Regions from separate parts of the Homo sapiens genome. Here region 2 is linked to region 1. The links are contacts of gene promoters, found by promoter capture Hi-C in human tissues and cell types (Jung and others, 2019). All regions are on one chromosome and are shown on one strand. Each heading gives the region's core, a stretch centred on a gene start or on the middle of the fragment in contact. The rest is flanking DNA. Distances are from core to core; before and after follow the strand shown. Region 1 holds the start of LURAP1 (leucine rich adaptor protein 1). Region 2 has its middle 6.1 kb from the start of LINC01144.

Region 1 (4,893 bases), core at 1,440-3,939:
AAATGAATGTAACCAGTCACCTAGTCCTGTCAGTCTTACCTCCTAAAGAGCCTTCCATTCTAGTCTAATTCTTCTTTGACCTCACAATCAGCCCCAGTGCAGGCCATTTCAGTTTCTTGCTTTCCAGCCAGTCTCCTTGACTCTAGATTTTTACTCCTCCTATCCTTTTCTCCTTGCAAAATCCAGAGTGATTTTCTTTAAGGCAAATGTTGCCGGGTTCGGTGGCTCATGCCTGTAATCCCGGCACTTTGGGAGGCCAAGGCGGGTGGATCACCTGAGGCGGATGGATCCGCCTGGCCAACATGGTGAAACCCCGTCTCTACTAAAAATACAAGAATTAGCTGGGTGTTGTGGCAGGTGCCTGTAATTCCAGTTACTCAGGAGGCTGAGGCAGGAGAATGGCTTGAACCTGGGAGGCAGAAGTTGCAATGAGCCAAGATGGTGCCACTGCACTCCAGCCTGGGCAACAGAGCCGGACTCTGTCTCAAAAAAAAAAGACAAATGTTTTGTCTATCTCTAACTTAAAACCCTTCCATGGATCAAAAAGTACCAAGGAAAATGATGTTACTTAAAATTATAAAGGTAGGCCAGGCATGGTGGCTCATGCCTGTAATCCCAGCACTTTGGGAGGCTAAGGTGGGAGGATTGCTTGAGGCCAGGAGTTCGAGACCAGCCTGGGCAACATAGCGAGACTCTATCTAAATTTTAAAAAAAGTTAATTACAAAGGTAACCTTAGATGAACTAAAAAGAGTGATAGAAATATGTAGTGCCAGGCCGGGCGCAGTGGCTCACACCTGTAATCCCAGCACTTTGGGAGGCTGAGGCAGGCAGATCACGAGGTCAAGAGTTCGAGACCAGCCTGACCAACATGGTGAAACCCCCGTCTCTACTAAAAATACAAAAATTAGTCGGGCATGGTGGCACGTGCCTGTAATCCCAGCTACTCAGGAGGCTGAGGCAGGAGAATCGCTTGAACCCAGGAGGGCAGGTTGCAGTGAGTCAAGATCGTGCCACTGCACTCCAGCCTGGGCGACAGAGTGAGACTCCATCTCAAAAAAAAAAAAAAAAAGAAAAAAGAAAGAAAAGAAAAGAAATATATATTGCCAATGGGGGAAAGGAACTACAGAGTGTGAGTTAAACCCATATATCCATATTTATCTGAATAGGACAATAAACAGCAGATGAATGTTTAAAATTGAGAAGTAGTGTGGCTGGGCATGGTGGCATACTCCTGTAGTCACAGCTGCTTGGGAGGCAGGAGGATTGCTTGAGCCCAGGAGTTTGAGTCCAGCCTGGGCAATGTAGGAAGACCCTGTCTCTAAAAAAGAAAAAATAGTGGTAGGATTTACAATAAGAGGATAGTTACTCCTACCCTACCCTTTCACACCTCTAGGCCCACTCCCAATTGGCAACCACTTTTAGTTAACTCTAAACAATAACGTTATGGGTATGAACACCAAAAGAAAAAAAAAAACTAAAAGTTATTTTTTGCCAATTGGGAGTGGGCCTAGAGGTGTGAAAGGGTAGGGTAGGGGTAACTATCTTCTCATTGTAAATCCTTCTGCAACCATGGGCTGGAATTACTTGAATTAAAAGCCTAAACAAACCAGAGTTTTCATGGCTGTTCATTACCTGTTAAATAAAACCCAAACATCTCAGAACCATTTTCTGTAACCTTGTTACTCAAAGTGTGGTCCCTTATTACTTGAAGTGTGGACCAGCAGCATGGCCATCACCTGGGAGCTTATTAGAAATGCAGGATCTTGGCTGGGCGCAGTGGCTCACACCTGTAATCCCAGCACTTTGGGAGGCCAAGGCAGGCGGATCACTTGAAGTCAGGAGTTCAAGACCAGCCTGGCCAACATGGTGAAACCCTGTCTCTACTAAAAATACAAAAATATTAGCTGGGCATGGTGGCGCATGCCTGTAATCCCAGCTACTCAGGAGGCAGAGGCAGGAGAATTGCTTGAACCCAGGGAGGCAGAGGTTTGTAGTGAGCCAAGATCGCGCCACCACGCTACATCCTGGGCGACAGAGCGAGACTCTGTCTCAAAAAAAAAAAAAAAAAAAAAAAAAAAATGCAGGATCTCAAGCCCCACCCCAGATTTACAAAATCAGAACCTACATTTTAACAAGATCCGCAGATAATTCATACGCACAGTCAAGCTTAAGGAGCATCTTGCTTGTAAGCCCAACGTGGACCTCTTCAGCTTCAGTACTGGTTGCCCTTTTCTACTCCGTTAGCCTGAATTCTAGCCCCTGGGGGGGGGGGGTGGTGTGTGTGTGTGTGTGTGTGTGTGTGTGTGTGTGTGTCTAGCTAAAATCCAGTCATCGTTTTATACCCAATTCCTCTGCTCCAGGAAGACTTCCAAGCCCTCTGCAGCTCTCTGTTACCGCTGTTCCTTAAACTCCCACATCTCTGACTGAAGCTGCTTAGACTTCATTCTGCAAACATGTATTGGGCGCCTGCTGTGTGCCTGGCTGGATTCAGTGCCAGGGTGGGGCGAAGGCGCTGAGGTCTCCGAGTGCTCTTTCAGGTCCAACTCCAGAATCGCCCAGCCCCACGCAATCCAGGGCCAGAGGTTGTGTGCGCAGCACTCGAATACATCCACAGACGGTGCTGCGCGGCTTTTCTGAGTGTTACGGCGCCCTCCTCCCGCCCCCGCGCCGCGCGGGCGGGGACCCACCGGTTTTGCTCCGCTTTAGCAGCGGCGAAGGGAGGACCCCCGGGAGCCGGTCCCCGGCGTCCGGTCGCCCAGCCCTTTTCAGGCTTGGGCCCGCATGGAGGGGACCGTGGAGTCCCAGACGCCTGACCTGCGGGATGTGGAGGGTAAGGTGGGCAGGAAGACCCCTGAAGGGCTGCTCCGCGGGCTGCGAGGCGAGTGTGAGCTGGGAACCTCTGGCGCCCTGCTGCTCCCAGGGGCGTCTAGCACCGGCCACGACTTGGGGGACAAGATCATGGCGCTGAAGATGGAGCTGGTGAGTGCTGAATCCATGGGCCAAGGGGACGAGTCCCTAGTGTAGGGCCGGGAGGGACGAACTCATGCTCCCAGAGTTAAGCTGGAGAGGAGGTAGTTAAAACTCTCCACCTAACTGCTCAGAATCCCTCCCAGATCAATCCGTAAACGCTGGGGTGGAGATGGAGTGACGTCCATTACTTGTCCCCCAAGAGTGAGTGGGGTGTTGATGGTCCTGAGGACTTGGGTTGGGAGCAGTGGGTTTTGGAAGTTATTCCTGCCAAATAATTGGGAGGAGAGAGATGAGGACTGGGAAGTACTGAGAACCCAACGCAGCACAAATTCCCCCCGCCTGTATGGGCCACCTATTCCCCGCCAGTCCCCGTTGTAAGGCAACCGGTTTTTTCTCCTTCTGCTAACCGGGAAAGGGTTTAAGTTCCTGTGAGGCCGCAGTGTTCCGCACAGAAAAGAAGTGGGTAAAGGGGCCTATCTGCTGAAAACTACCTGGACCAGGGGCACTGAAAACCTTCTCCGTTTCCTCTACATCCCCCAGCCCTACTTAAAATAATGGAAAGTTCCTAGACCCATAGCAGGGACAGAGAGTAGCAGCACCACTGGTGCTGATTCCCTCGCCTCAGACTCAGTCTCCTCCCAGCCAGTCTTCCAGGTAAACTGGATATTTGGATCTCATCTGTACATTCTTGGGGAGAAGAGGAAACAGCAACCCTCCCCTTTCTCTATTGCTGCTGGTCTAGATTCAGAGCCAAAAGGGCAGCCGAGGCCCTGGCAGGTTCCCCAGGGCCCTGATTCCGGTGAAGTGGGTGATTTACACCTGCCACTACTTTGCAGCCAGTTCTGGGGAACTGAGGAATTGCCATCGGCTTCCTGGCTCACAACCAGGAGCCCACAGTGAGTACGTCAGCTAAAGTCTTCCTGTGTGCCCAGCCTGTGCCAAGCTGGTCTGTGAAGGAGAAGGGGAAGGAAATCATGGGGGCTCTGAGACCAGCCAGGGCTCCGACGCCTGAGCTGAGAGGCTGGGAAGAGAGTCTGGTGGGTGGAGCAGTCAGGAAAGGCCCCCTGGGAGAAGGACTTGAATGCCAAGTGTGCACTTGGCCTTGAAGGTTGGAGGTGAGTGCCCAATTCTCCAGAGCAAGGCTGTGACTGTACCCACCTAAGCGGGGGCTTGCCTTTGCCTCACTGTACAAACTTTAGCTCAAGGCCTAGTAAGAGCCTATCTAGACTGTCTACTTGCTTTGAAAACTTTCACCCAGTGCATGTGCCAGGCAGCTTGCTGAGCACTTTACATGATGCTCTCTTCATCTCCACAGTAACCCTGTTAAGTGATATTTTATAGATGGAGAAACTGAGGCACAGGGTGGGCATGGTGGCTCACGCCTGTAATCCCAGCACTTTGGGAGGCCGAGGCAGGCAGATCGCTTGAGCCCAGGAGTTTGAGACCAGCCTGGGCAACAAAGCAAGACCCTGTCTCTACAAAAAATACAAAAATTAGATGGGTGTTGTGGTGTGTGCCTGTAGTCCTAGCTACTCTGGAGGCAGAGGCAGGAGGATCACTTGAGCCCAGGAAGAGGAGGTTGCAGTGAGCTGAAATCGCACCACTGCACTCCAGCCTGGGTGACAGAGCTCAGAGCTAGACCCTGTCTCAAAAAAAGAAGGGGAAGAAGGGGAGGAAGGGAGGAAGGGAGGGAGGGAGGAGAAAAGAAAAGAAAACAGAGGCACAGGGAGTTTAATAACTGCCCAACATCACGCAAAAAGCAGGGCCATGATTTGAACCCAGATCATCTGACTGCACTTTGCATCTTTACTTTGAGACCTGCTTTGTGCCAGATAGTCTGAACATTTTATGTCATTGAAATGAGAAAACTGGTCATCATTTCTCCCATCTTACAGATAAAACGTGCTTGCAGATTCTGAACT
Region 2 (4,893 bases), core at 1,769-4,268, 890 kb before region 1:
TTTAAAATTAATGGTAAGGTAATATTAGAAACATCTTAAGAATTGCCCGCCTACATTTTTCTTTGCATGTATTAATGAAGCAATTTCATACTCATCCCTGCCAAATATTATAAGGTGTCAAAATTTGGCATAGGGGTAACAAAACTATAAACGCAGCCCAAGACAGAATGATCTTGCTTGTGTAACCTTTAACAAATAAGATGTTGATATTGGTTTAATGAATGTAGTTATATCTTGAATTATTTAGTAAAATTACCATAACCTCTAATTTTGTGGCTTTAGGCAGTCTAATCCACAGATGGTAGGTAGGTTTGTTTTGGGAAAGGACTGTTACCATCTTTGTTTCAAAGCTAAACTATAAACTAAATTTCTCCCAAAGTCCAGGAATGAACAACGACAGCTTGGAGTTTAGAAGCAAGATGGAGTCAGTTAGGTCATATCTTCCTCACTGTCTCAGTTATAATTTTGCAATGGCAGTTTCATAACTTTATTTATTTTTTAATTTTATTTTTGGAGATGGCGTCTCACTCTGTCACCCAGGCTGGAGTGCAGTGGCACAATCTCGGCTCACTGCAACCTCTGCCTCCCTGGTTCAAGGGATTCTCTTGCCTCAGCCTCCCTAGTAGCTGGCATTACAGGCATCCGCCACCACACCCAGCTAATTTTTGTATTTTTAGGAGATATGGGGTTTCACCATGTTGGCCAGGCTGGTCTTGAACTCCTTACCTCCGGTGATCTGCCCACTTCGGCCTCCCAAAGTGCTGGATTACAGGCATGAGCCACCACGCCCAGCGGTTTCATAACTTTAAATCATGACTTTTGGGCCTGGGTGCAGTAGCTCACGCCTATAATCCCAGCACTTTGGGAGAATGAGGCAGGCAAATCACCTGAGGTCAAGAGTTCAAGACCAGCCTGACCACCATAGAGAAACCCCGTCTCTACCAAAAATACAAAATTAGCCAGCTGTGGTGGCATGTGCCTGTAATCCCAGCTACTGGAGATTACAGTAGATTACAGGTGCCTGGGCAACAAGAGCGAAATTACATCTCAAAAAAAAAAAAAAAATCATGACTTGTGGTTTTCATAATCTAGGTAAACCATTAAAATAAAAAAATTAGGTAAATGTAATGGGATAAATACTGGCAGACAAATTTGTCTTAATTTATAATATAAAGTTAAATTAATAGATATTTCATTATTTGGGTATTTTCCAATAAAATATATAATATAGGAAAACATTCTTGATTTTAAAAAGTGTGAACTTTCTTAAAAAAGGTGAAAAAGTTTTGTCTAATTCAAAGATTATTTTAAGGTTGTGAATAAAACAAGGTAAAAGAAACCAGGAAATAAAAAGAGATGTAAAGACAGAAAAAAAAAAGGTTTTTTATGGTAAGAAAGCTTAAAGAGAAATAATGTTATACGAGAAAGAATCTTGTATGGTGGCTGCGAGCAGTGGCTTATGCCTGTAATCCCAGCACTTTGGGTGGCCAAGGTGGGTGGATCACCTGAAGTAAAGAGTTCTGGACCAGCCTGACCAACATGGTGAAACCCCATCTCTACTAAAAATACAAAAATTAGCCAGGCATGGCAGCATGCGCTTGTAGTCCCAGCTACTCAGGAGGCTGAGACAGGATAATTGCTTGAATCCATGAGGTGGAGATTGCAGTGAGCCGAGATTTCACCACTGTACTCCAGCCTGGGCAACAGAGCAAGGCTCCATCTCAAAAAAAAAAAAAAAAAGCACTTACTAAAAAAAAAAAATATTGAATGGTAAATTTAGTCCTAAAATAAAATGACTAATTGTTTAAGAAGGAGGGATGTTCAGCTCAAGGCAACCTCTGCCTCCCGGGTTCAAGCGATTCTCCTGCCTCAGCCTCCTGAGTAGCTGGGATTACAGGCGCACGCCACCATACCCAGCTAATCTTTGTATTTTTAGTAGAGACGGGATTTCATGATGTTGGTTAGGCTGGTCTCGAACTCCTGACCTCAAGTGATCCACCTGCCTTGGGCTCCCAAAGTGCTGGGATTATAGGCATGAGCCACCACGACCAGCCCAAAAATTTTTTTAATTGAGGTTACTATATCCATGTGTCTTCTTGTGTGTACTTCTAAAGTCCTTGTGACCTTGAGTTACAGGGCTTTGACTCCTGGGTCAAAAAGGACACCAAGTCCTGCTAAATCTTAAACACTGACAGCAATTAAAGCCTCATCAGGCTCCATAGAAGATGCCGGTCAAAATAAACTGCATTTCTGAGACACAGGGCCAAAAATTAAAGCCGTTCAACTCCTTAAGGCCCAGGGACTATCATGGAAGAGGTGGGCACGTGAGATTCTAAGGGCTGATTTTGAAAGATAAAGTTCAATTTCTCTATATATTAATCACTAACGTCAAAGGCACTTGAATGTGCTGATGAAAGACTAGCACATGGGCCCCTGTGTCAGATTAAAAGAGACTCTCCTGCCTCTTGAAGCATTAACTGACTCCTTAAGAAAGGCTATAGGCTGGGTGCGGTAGCTCACGCCTGTAATCCCAGCACTTTGGGAGGCCGAGGCAGGCGGATCATGAGATCAGGAGATCAAGACCATCCTGGCTAACATGGTGAAAGCCCGTCTCTATTAAAAATACAAAAAATTAGCCGGGCGTAGTGGCGGGCGCCTGCAGTCCCCGCCACTCGGGAGGCTGAGGCAGAAGAATGGCATGAACCCAGGAGGTGGAGCTTGCAATGAGCCGAGATCGCGCCACTGCACTCCAGCCTGGGAGACAGAGCCAGACTCCGTCTCAAAAAAAAAAAAAAAAAGAAAGCCTATAAAGTTTATAAAAGGCTTATGGAAGCTCTATCTTACGGTCAACATTAAAATTTTCTAGATCACTTATAAAATTTTGAAAAACAAATTTAATTAGCTTATTGCTGTTTTTCTTAAGTCTTCTTGCTTGGAAAATTAAGTTGCCTCTCAAAGAATGAAGGTTTTAAAAAAAAAAAACATTGAGTTATCACTTTGGTTAAATGAATGACTTATTTGACAATGACCTGTGATCCTATTTTGTGATATCAAGTGTTTTAAACCTTTGATACTCAACAAGCTTTCTAAAATCAAATTGTAAATTAGGTCTTTTTCTGATGTAATTAATCCTTTGAGAGATTAGGTTCCCTAAAGTCCAAAAATGACATAATTTGGTTTATTTGGTATAAAAATGATACAGGTAGCATTGTCAAATATGAAATGGTGTCTCATTTTCTTTAGGCTGTATTTCTATAATTATGTTATTAATATGTGTTCCAATATTATGGGAAACTCCTATAATTCTGATATAACTTAGTGTACATTATCAGTAATAATTATAATTGTTATGTTAAATTATTGTATGCCACAGAGGTAAATTTCCTTGTCAATTTTGTCTTTGACTATGGCTGCCCTAAAACCTTTTGTCATCTACGAACAATTGTTGTCTTGTTTTGGTCCTCTTTGGAAGATGGTTCTATAGTCAGCTATGGAACTCTAACAGTTGTTCTTGAATGCAGGTTTCTGATAACTTTGGAGAGTGTGACATCAGAATAGAAGAAAAACTTTAGGACTCATGGAGAGCTAAAATGTTCATGAGTATCAGGCAGAACAGAAATTAACTGCATGGACTGAACTAATCTTTATAACTTTTTGCTTAAAATGTTTGCTGAACATTTGTTTTGTGTTTGAGAGTCTTAAAACTTCTTTTGAGCTACTGACAGCTTTTAACAATTTAATATACTCCTATGAAAAAATTTGGAGCATATTTGTTTCTCTCTACCTGATTTCTTCAGAAATTAGAAGCTATTTGTGAATATTCTTAACTTATGGCAAGACAGTTATTTGCATAAGTGCAATAAGAATCTGTTTTTGGCCGGGTGCAGAGGCTCACGCCTATAATCCCAGCACTTTGGGAGGCCAAGGCGGGCGAATCACCTGAGGTCAGGAGCTCAAGACCGGCCGGACCAACATGGAGAAACCCCATCTCAAAATACAAAATTTAGCTGGGCATGGTGGCGTGCACCTGTAATCCCAGCTACTTGGAAGGCTGAGGCAGGAGAATCGCTTGAACCCAGGAGGCAGAGGTTGAAATCAAATGAGATCATGCCATTGCACTCCAGCCTGGGAGACAGAGTGAGACTCCATCTAAAAAAACAAAAAAAGAATCCGTTTTCATTTGTAACAGGACACAATTGGAGAAACTGGTTATTTAACCAAGGCTTTGACTGGAATAGTGTGCTTTCCTTTGAGAAATCAAACCTGACTTACGGAGCCAATAAAGCCCTTGGGAAAACTGGCATCATATTTTGTGTATACAGTCCCTATGCAGGGTTTCTGATGTGTGGTAAGTAAATAACGTCACATTCTGACAGGCCCAGAAGCCCCAGGTTTATCTTGGAACCTCAAGAGGAGAGGAAATTCACCCAACTCACAGATATTTCATGGCACAAATCCATGGCTGGGCTCGACTTTTAAAAAGTCTTTTCTGAGATTCCTCTTATGTAATGAAGTTCCATCAAAGCCAATTTAAAAGCCTATGTATGGTGGACACGGTGGGTCACACCTGTAATCCCAGCACTTTGGGAGGCTGAGGTGGGTGGATCACCTGAGGTCAGGAGTTCAAGACCAGCCTGGCCAACATGGTAAAACCCCATCTCTACTAAAAATACAAAAAATTAGCTGGGCGTGTTGGTGGCGTTCTGTAATCCCAGCTACTCAGGAGGCTGAGGGAGGAGAATTGCTTGAACCTGGGAGGCTGAAGTTGCAGTGAGCCGAGATAATGCCATTATACTCCAGCCTTGGCAACAGGAGCAAAACTCCATCTCAAAAAATAAAATTAAATAAATAAATAAAAGTTTATGTAAAAAAAATTATTCTTGCTGCACTTTA

The links. Contacts are between HindIII fragments. The study calls those that stand out against the background at their distance.
Region 2: a contact is called between a fragment that was not itself captured here and the fragment with the promoter of LURAP1 in region 1, in 1 of the 25 tissues and cell types used here (thymus).

The regions. Positions count from the first base shown.
Region 1 is chr1:46,200,645-46,205,537 of GRCh38, forward strand. It overlaps LURAP1 (leucine rich adaptor protein 1), which reads left to right and starts at 2,690. Exons shown (of 2, transcript NM_001013615.3): 1 at 2,690-2,980. The coding sequence starts at 2,783. It also overlaps a transcript of POMGNT1 not described here. RefSeq lists a silencer at 2,611-2,730. The HindIII fragment of the contact is 7,969 bases long and covers 1-4,893 here.
Region 2 is chr1:45,307,531-45,312,423 of GRCh38, forward strand. No RefSeq gene overlaps it. Among named protein-coding and RNA genes, the nearest start is that of LINC01144, 6.1 kb to the left of the region's middle. The HindIII fragment of the contact is 4,644 bases long and covers 697-4,893 here.